Regions from separate parts of the Homo sapiens genome. Here all the other regions are linked to region 2. The links are contacts of gene promoters, found by promoter capture Hi-C in human tissues and cell types (Jung and others, 2019). All regions are on one chromosome and are shown on one strand. Each heading gives the region's core, a stretch centred on a gene start or on the middle of the fragment in contact. The rest is flanking DNA. Distances are from core to core; before and after follow the strand shown.

Evidence for each region. Contacts are between HindIII fragments. The study calls those that stand out against the background at their distance.
Region 1: a fragment that was not itself captured here is called in contact with the fragment with the promoter of CD180 in region 2 in 1 of the 25 tissues and cell types used here (dorsolateral prefrontal cortex).
Region 3: a fragment that was not itself captured here is called in contact with the fragment with the promoter of CD180 in region 2 in 1 of the 25 tissues and cell types used here (dorsolateral prefrontal cortex).

Annotation. Positions count from the first base shown.
Region 1 is chr5:66,327,743-66,330,835 of GRCh38, reverse strand. No RefSeq gene overlaps it. Among named protein-coding and RNA genes, the nearest start is that of LINC02065, 120 kb to the right of the region's middle. RefSeq lists an enhancer at 957-2,156. The HindIII fragment of the contact is 4,246 bases long and covers 1-3,093 here.
Region 2 is chr5:67,195,232-67,198,392 of GRCh38, reverse strand. CD180 (CD180 molecule) reads left to right here and starts at 1,594. Exons shown (of 3, transcript NM_005582.3): 1 at 1,594-1,841. The coding sequence starts at 1,752. RefSeq lists an enhancer at 2,621-2,770. The HindIII fragment of the contact is 16,000 bases long and covers 1-3,161 here.
Region 3 is chr5:68,143,562-68,146,672 of GRCh38, reverse strand. No RefSeq gene overlaps it. Among named protein-coding and RNA genes, the nearest start is that of LINC02219, 45 kb to the left of the region's middle. The HindIII fragment of the contact is 9,444 bases long and covers 1-3,111 here.

The DNA of each region.
Region 1 (3,093 bases), core at 400-2,899, 870 kb after region 2:
CTGAGCCCTCCAAGCTGGTCCAACCTCTGCCTGTTACCCAGTTCCAAAGTCATTTCCACATTTTCGGGTGTCCTTATAGCAACACATTACTTCCTCGGTACAAATTTACTGTATTAGTCCATTCTCACGCTGCTATAAAGAAATACCTGAGACTGGGTAATTTATAAAGAAAACAGGTTTAATTGACTCACAGTTCCACATGGCTGGAGAGGCCTCAGGAAACTTATAATCATGGTGGAAGGCACTTCTTCACAGGAGAGCAGGAGAGAGAATGAGTGCCCAGTGAAGGGGGCAGCCCCTTATAAAACCATCGATCTTGTGAGAACCCACTCACTATCACAAGAACAGCAGCATGGGGGCAACTGCCCCCATGATTCAATTACCTCCCACTGGGTCCCTCCCATGACATGTGGGGATTATGGGAACTACAATTCAGGATGAGATTTCAGTGAGGACACAGCCAAACCATATCACCCTTCATTGAAATGTTTCACTATAAACTACTTTAGATTGTGACCTTCTTGAGGCTCTGCCTTAATCTTCCTGGATCTTCTTAAGTCTTCTTTGAGTCTCTGACTACTTACAGAGGGGTGGGGCTCAGGAAGAGAAGAGAGATTCCTCAGCAGGAAACTGCAACTCACAGGTCCTATTTCCCTGCCTAGTTCATTGCCTACGAAAAAGTCATTGCTCAGTGCATGCTGATAAATGATTGATGTGAGGATGGATGGATGGATGGATGGATGGATGGATGGATGGATGGAGATCAGGAATGCCAGATCATTATCTACTCTTCTTTAGGACCAAAATTAATTCTATGCTGTGGCCTTGGGCCTTAGCGGGGCCATGATCTTTGAGAAAATGAGAGGTGCAGACTATTCTAAGGAGTAGACAGATCCCTGAAGAGGACAGGCAAGTCTTTTCCAACCTAGTTCCCCTATACTTCTTGGGGAAAGAAGCTTTCCAGGTCAGACTGTTCCCACCTGGGCAAAGTTCCCCAACCTTTGGGCAGCCACAAATGGTCACTAGGCACAGAGCAGGCCAGACTGTGCCAAAAAAATCATTCAAGAAGGCTCAGAAAACTCCTAACTGCCACATGCAGGAAAGCCCAGTGCTATGTTCCTCTTGGCTTACAGAGAGAAGAAAGAGGCCAGGCCATAGCACATGTTGACAAATCAGAAGACATCCAAAGGAGCTCAGAGAAATCTAGAAGTATGTTCTATGATCAACAAGGGGATGAACTGAAGAGATTTAGCCTGAAAAAGAAAACAATGGGGGAAGAGTAAGGTGGGGGCTGAATAGCTCTCTTTGGAATGACAGTATGTTGAAAGTCAATATAATTGTTTAGCTCTAGAGAGGAGAACTATGGCCAAGAGGAGGCATATTTAATTTCATGCAAGGAAGCAGCCTCTAACAATTAACGTCAGCCCACAGTGGGTTGTTGAAGCCTATCACTGTTAAGAGATTCGTTAGTTTCCTGTCAATGCACGAACTGAAACAGAAGCTACAGGATTATCTGTTTGAGCTGTTGTGTGAGGGATTCCTGCAGTGGGAGGAAGGTGGGGCTAGGTGATTCAAGGTATTTTCCATGATTCATTTGTTTAGATGAGGCACCCATGCCATCCTCACCTCACCTCACCCACACCTACTGAGACTCTGAAATCAAGCTTTAATTCAAGGGTTTGACTACCAACTCAATTCCCCACATAGACTTTATGGATCTTAAAACTCCTAAGTTTATTAATGGAAAATTCTGATATCTTCCCCAGGGATGTGTAGATCCAAATGGGAGCCAGCCCCTTTCTTCCTTAAAGGGACACACTTACCAAGGGATGGTAAAAACCTTCACTTACAAAGTCCTCTTCAAACTCTGTCTCTGAGTTTCTCAGTTTTTCTCTCCTTTCTCCACACCCACACCCAGAGTAATTCCCAGCGTGTGCTTTGGAAAGGTTAATCTTGGGTCTCCATACTCTATAGCTCCATCATTGTAGGACAATCAAGTGTCCTTTCAGTTCAGCCCTGGAAAACAACTCACAGTAGTGTCCCTGCTTATTGAATTAGTCAACCTGTCCAAGATCTGAGCTCTTTTACGGAAGTAATCCACAGCCCTTTAATCAGTAACACCAGGAATTATGCTGAGGAATACTCATACCCTTCTATCACCAACCAGGCATCACGCTTCTCATCTTCTCTCAACCTCCATTGTGCTATGCTCTGAGTAGGACACACAACCAGTGCCCACTCCGACCACCACCCAACTGAGTATTGTACCAATGAACCCTTCACCTTCTCCTCAGGAGTCTTAGTCAGTTTTGTGCTGGTTTAACAAAATACCTGGAATTAGGTAACTTATAAAGAACAAACTTATTTCTCATGGTTCTAGAGCCTGGGAAGTCCCAGTTCAAAGGGCCAGCTGGTGAGGGCCCTATCTCTCTTCTAAGATGGTGCCTTGTTGCTGTGTCCTCCTGAGGGGAAGAATGCTGCATCCTCCCATGTGGAAGGCAGAAGGGCAAGAAAGCCAAACACTGCTGCATGAGGCCTCTTTTATAAGGGCTTTAATCCCATTTATGTGGGAGGAGCCCTGCTGGCCTAATCACTTCTTCAAGACCTCATCTCTTAATTCTGTCACATTGGCCATTAAGTTTCAATACCTGAATTTTGGAGGAGACACATTCAAATTACAACTTCAGGTATGTAAGGAAATTGGCAATAACCTAAAATTTTAAAATTTCTCCTTATATACCCACTCTACCTACACTGGATAGAGGAGTACATGCAAATTAGGTGCCAGGCACTGTCCAGAAAGTCCCAAAGTTTACTTTCAAACCAAACCCTGAAATTGACTCTGGGTCACCAACATCATCAAAGCTTGGGGTGAGCACCAAACCTGGCAGGTGCACAATCAGGAATCACAGTGATGACAGTTCCCACACTGAGTGACTCTGAGCACAGACCTGGCAGGTGCAGAAGTGACTCTTCCAACCCCATTTCTTCATCCATCAGTGAGGAGGTTGGTCTTGATGATTTCTGGGACTTTACCATGCCTAAAATGGCACAATTCTGTGATTGAAAGAGGCATTTTCTCCTCAGCCCCTT
Region 2 (3,161 bases), core at 345-2,844:
GTCACTCAGTTGGTAAGCAAGGATCTGCGGTCTACCACTAGACTCTTCCCAGTTCTCAGCTCTTCCTAATATACACTGATGGATGTCTTATTTGAAGCAAGGTGGTCCGTCATTGGTCTGGGTTTGCTTAGACTGTGTCTTGCTGATAGCATCTTCAGAGATGATTTTGTTGATGAAGATGGCATTTTAAGGGTGACCAGGAAAAGCCCAAATATGTGTAGCAGGCCTAGCAGACTGCCAAGTACATATTTCCTCCAATCCCCTCTGCTTTTTAGCATCTTTTCTGAAATCTCCAGATGAACAACATTCTTCGCCCCATCTACTCTTCAGCTCCTTCAGGAGGCAAAGTCCTTTCTTAAACTGTGAAGAGTAGCAGCATAGTCTCTGCAGTGAGATTTTCTGGATCTGAAGCCCTAATCTACCACTCTCTAATTGTGTGGCTTGGAGAGATCATTTAATTTCTCTTAAGCATCAGTTTCTACATCTATAAAATGAGGGAAATAATAATATCTCTCTTATAGAATATATGGAAATATTCGAGGATAGGAAAATGCAGCAAAAAACTGCATTAAACCTGACCCAGTGTCTGACACATAGTAAGGACTCAATAAATGGCAGATACTATAGTCATTTGATTCATCATAGTAATACTGTAGAGGTGGTGGTGGTGGTGGTGGTGGTAGTAGTAGTAGTAGCAGTAGTTAAGTCATTGTGAACTCTGATACTAAGAACTGGGCTCTTGGAAATGGAGTGGGAGAACAGTAACACCAAATATATCCTGTATGCCAGAGGGTTGAAGAACAGACAGAACAGGTAGCTAAATGCAGCCTATTGAGGAATGTTTGAACTTTGGCTTTCTTTAATCATTGCCACATCTTGCTCCATAATAAGGGTAATTGTAATCCTGCTTCAAAGCTATTTCTAAGAAGAAATAGAGCCAAGGCTGGCATCCCTAACTCTACTCTCCTTTAGCCAGGCTGCTCTATCTATGGCAGTGTCCCCTACTTCCCCAGGCCAGGTTAGGAGGGAACAAGAGAGTCCACCCCAACTGCTTTAACAAGCCTGAACCGCCAGGTCAAGAGATGAAGTAATCTTCCCCCTATACGAAGACCAGAGGTGGGGATGGACAAGGTGGCCAAGGCAGCAGCTGAGGCTCAAGGAGCAGATACACTCTCAAGCCTGCTCCCTCCTGCTCCAGTTCCCAGCTCAGCAGGTGCCACTGAAGGGCTCAGTTCTTCAGTCTGCCCCTGCAGAGTGCTCTGCCCTTCCATGTTCTCTGACACCTCTTCTATTCACTCACCTAGGACAACTAAGAAAGTGGCCTCCTTGGTGAGTAGAGCTTCCACAGCCTCTCTCGGGGAAAAGGACCAGAAGCTGTTGGAGTTGGCCAAATGCTTGAAGTTGGCATAAAGTCAATTGGAACCATCACAATGAGAGTCTGTGTGATCAGCCCAAAAGGACTGCACAACTGATTCATGTTCAGTGCCAGGAAATGCAACGGGCCATTCTGGGGTTGGGTCCTCAGTTATTTTTGGCAAAGATGGGTGGTATGCAAAAGGGACTTCCTTTTTTTTTTTTTTTTTTTTTTCCAGCACAGAGCCACAGAATGCTGAGCAGTCAACAGCATTTCTTGTTCCAAGATCACCCTTCTGAGTACCTCTCTGGCTGCCAAATTGCCAGGGCCTTCACAGTTTGATTCCATTTCTCAGCTCCAAGCATTAGGTAAACCCACCAAGCAATCCTAGCCTGTGATGGCGTTTGACGTCAGCTGCTTCTTTTGGGTGGTGCTGTTTTCTGCCGGCTGTAAAGTCATCACCTCCTGGGATCAGATGTGCATTGAGGTGAGTCCAAACTGTTTGTCTTTATGCAGATTAAACTGTCTGAAAATTTTGAGATTTAGCACGCAGTCCAATCTGAGCCTTGGCATCCCAATATCTAGTGTCTTTAAAAAGGAAATAAGGTGTATATATAATTTTTTCATTATTGTGAGAAAGGAGCCAAAGAACTCTGCCAGGGGATCATCTGGTGGCATCTTAATAGGAAGCAAAGAGAATTTTTCTCCTCTTCAAACAATTCCACCCAAATAATCCCAAGTGGGTCATAAGATATTAATAGGGTCTGTGTGCACAAAGCAGACCCCTAAACCTGCCTCAACCTAGGGGAGCTGTTGGTTTAACATCCCCACTCTCACATGGCCTCTATCCCAATGAGTCCTTTGGTCTCCTCTCAGGGTGAGAATTAGTAAAGACAGCGCTGTGCCAGGTTTTCGAGCATTGAAAAGATCACTCTGAATGAGTCTGGCTCTCTCTTGGACTTGGACAGCCTTCCATCTGTTTTACTAACCCATAGGAGGAAAATCTGAGAATAGAGCCAAATTGCACCTTCTGTTTTGGACCATAGCAATATTTATCAACCTGTGGGAAGTTCTTGGAGGGGATAATGAGAGAAAAAGGAGAAGGGCCTCCGTCTCTTGCCATCCTCTAAAATGCTTCAAACTTCCTCCCACTTTCTCTGACCCCACAAGTGATCAATACCACGTGGCCTGTCAGACAAGGGCTGCATACAGGAGGAACCATGAGTCTTGGTGGCTTGGTGAGCTGCTGGTCTGGGTTGAGGTAAAAAGAAGAGTAAGAGCCAGGAATAGCCAGATGTGGAGTTGCCCTGGGGCAGGACTAGAAGGAGATCAGAGGATCAGGAAGAGCAGAGCAAAGCCAGCACTGGGGTAAGGCTCAGAGCTGGGTGAGCAGAGCCTTGTTGGTCTGGCATTAGGATGGAATCAGCAGCAGGCCAAGAGGAGGCATCATGCCAATGAGAAATGAAGGCTGGGAAGGTGTGTGTTGCTTTGCTTGGGCTGTCATAACAAATGCCACAGACTGGGCCAGGCGTGGTGGCTCACGCCTATAATCCCAGCACTTTGGGAGGCCAAGGTGGGTGTATGCCTTGAGACTGGGAGTTCGAGACCAGTCTGGGCAACATGGCAAAACCCCATCTGTACTAAAAATACAAATATTAGCTGGGCATGGTGGCACATGCCTGTAATCCCAACTACTCGGGAGGCTGAGGCAGGAGACTCACTCAAACCCGGGAGGCAGAGGTTGCAGTGAGCCGTGATTGTGCCACCGCACTCCAGCCTTGGCGACAGAGCAAGACTCTGTCTTAAA
Region 3 (3,111 bases), core at 383-2,882, 950 kb before region 2:
ATTTTTAGGAAATATTTAAATATTAATATTAAGAAAATTGGCCATTTTTTATGTTTCTACCAGTATTTTTACCTAGTTAATAATTTTTCTATTCATCTTGTTTATGGTATATTTTTACAGGAAAATTTTGACTTTTATGTATTCTAATTTTTCAGTTAAAAATACTTTCTAGGTTTTGTGTCATAGTGAAGCAATTAATGCTCTGAGATTATAAAACCATTTTATAGTCTGGGCGCGGTGGCTCATGCCTGTAATCCGAACACTTTGGGAGGCTGAGGTGGGCAAATCACCTGAGGTCGGGAAGTTTGAGACCAGCCTGACCAACATAGAGAAACCCCTTCTCTACTAAAAATACAAAATTAGCCAGGCATGGTGGTACATGCCTGTAATCCCAGCTACTTGGGAGGCTGAGGCAGGAGAATTGCTTGAACCCAGGAGGCAGAGGTTACAGTGAGCCAAGCTCTCATCATTGCACTCCAGCCTGGGTAACAAGAGTGAGACTTCACCTCAAAAACAAACAAACAAAAACATTTTTTAATTTATTTTGGTATTTTTATTTATTTTTTACACTTAAATCTTTGATTTCTCTTAAACATATTTTTAATGTAACAAGCAAGGCATTGACTGAATGTTTTTTTTCTCAAGTGACTACCCAGTTCTCCTTACACCATTACATAAATAATTTTAATTTTTCTTCGCACTGATTTGTAATGCTACTTTAATCATAATTTGATTCCCTAAAGAATGTGATGTCCAAATTAGGTTTTATAGCTAAGTGTTATGAAACTATTGTGGAACAGATAACCCCAATACTATTTAAACTCATCTGAATAGGAAAAAAAAAAAAACATAACAATAAAAGGATTTTTTTTTTTTTTTTTTGAGGCAGAGTCTTGCTCTTTCACTCAGGCTGGAGTGCAATGGCGCAATCTTGGCTCACTGCAGCCTCCTCCTCCCAGGTCCAAGCGATTCTCCTGCCTCAGCCTCCCAAGTAGCTGAAACTACAGGCGCCCCCCACCATGCCCGGCTAATTTTTCTATTTTTAGTAGAGATGGGGTTTCACTATATCGGCCAGGCTGGTGTCAAAAGCCTGACCTTGTGATCCACCCGCCTTGGCCTCCCAAAGTGATGGTATTACAGGTGTGAGCCAGGGTGCCCGGCCAAAGGATGTTTTTAGGGAGTAGCTCACATGTATTCCTATTTCTCTTTTACAAATTAGCCTATTTGATTTTTTCCCCTTTCTTTGGGAGTCAATTCTAAAAAATGACACATTTTATCCAGATTTTTATTTCTACTTATCTGGGGCTGAGTTTATTATTTTTTGTATTGCCTTTGTAGTGTGATTATTTTTCATTCATTTGTTCTTGAATATATTTTTGCTTGCTTAATTTTGTTCTTTATTTTTATTTTATTTTTTCAACTTTTATTTTTGATTCAGGGGGTGCATGTCCAGGTTTGTTACCTGGATATAGTGTGTAATGCTGAGGTTGGGGTATGAATCATACCGTTACCCAGGTACCAAGCATTGTACCCAGTAGTCAGTTTTTCAACTTTTGTCCCCACCCTGTACCTTTAGTAGTCCCCAGTTTCTATTGTCCCTGTCTACGTCCATGAGTATCCAATGTTTAGCTCTCAGCTTATAAGTGAGAACATGCAGTATTTGGTTTTCTGTTGCTGAGTTAATTCACTCAGGATAATGGCCTGTAGCTGCATCCATGTTGCTGCAAAGAACATGCGTTAGTTCTTTTTTATGACTGCATAGTATTCCGTGGTGTATATGTATCACATTTTCTTTAATCCACCATTGATAGGCACCTAGATTGAGCCACATCTTTGCTATTGTGAATAGTGCTGTGATGAACATATGAGTGCATATGTCTTTTTGGTAGAACAATTTATTTTCCTTTGGATATATACCCAGTAAAGGAATTGCTGTGTCAAATGGTGGTTCTGTTTTCAGTTCTTTGAGAAATCTCCAAACTGCTTTTCAAGTGGATGAACTAAGTTACATTCCCACCAACAGTGTATAAACATTCCCTTTTCTCCACAGACTCACCAACATCTGCTGTTTCTTGACTTTTTATTAAGTCATTCTGAATGGTGTGAGATGGTATCTCATTGTGGTTTTGATTTGCATTTCTCTGATGATTAGTGATGTTGAGCATTTTTTCATATGTTTGTTAGCTGCTTCTATGTCTTCTTCTTCTTCTTTTTGTTTTAGACAGAGTCTCGCTCTGTCGCCCAGGCTGGAGTGCAATGGCACAATCTTGGCTCACTGCAACCTCCACTTCCCTGGTTCAAGCAATTCTCCTCCCTCAGCCTTCCAAGTAGCTGGGACTACAGGCACTTGCCACCATACCTGGCTAATTTTTGTGTTTTTAGTAGAGACAGGGTTTCACCATCGTGGCCAGGCTGGTCTCAAACTCCTGACCTCAGGTGATCTACCTGCCTTGGCCTCCCAAAGTGCTGGGATTACAGGTGTGAGCCACTGCACCTGGCCGTTTCTATGTCTTCCTTTGAGAAGTGTCTGTTCATGTCGTTTGCCCATTTTATTTATTTATTTTTTATTTCCTATTATTATACTTTAAGTTCTGGGGTACATGTGCAGAACGTGCAGGTTTGTTACATAGGTATACATGTGCCATGGTGGTTTGCTGCACGCATCAATCTGTCACCTATGTTAGGTATTTCTCCTAATGCTATGCCTCCCCTAGCCCCCCACCCCCCGACAGGCCCGGGTGTGTGATGTTCCCTTCCCTGTATGCATGTGTTCTCATTGTTCAACTCCCACTTATGAGTGAGAACATGCGGTGTTTGGTTTTCTGTTCTTGTGTTAGTTTGCTGAGAATGATGGTTTCCAGCTTCATCCATGTCCCTGCAAAGGACATGAACTAATTCTTTTTTATGGCTGCATAGTATTCCATGGTGTATATGTGCCACATTTTCTTTATCCAGTCTATCATTGATGGGCATTTGGGTTAGTTCCAAGTCTTTGCTATTGTGAATAGTGTGGCAATAAACATAGGTGTGCATGTGTCTTTATAGCAGACATTTGCCCATTTTTTAATGGGGTTATTCATTTTTTGCTTATTCAATTGTTTAAGTTCCTTA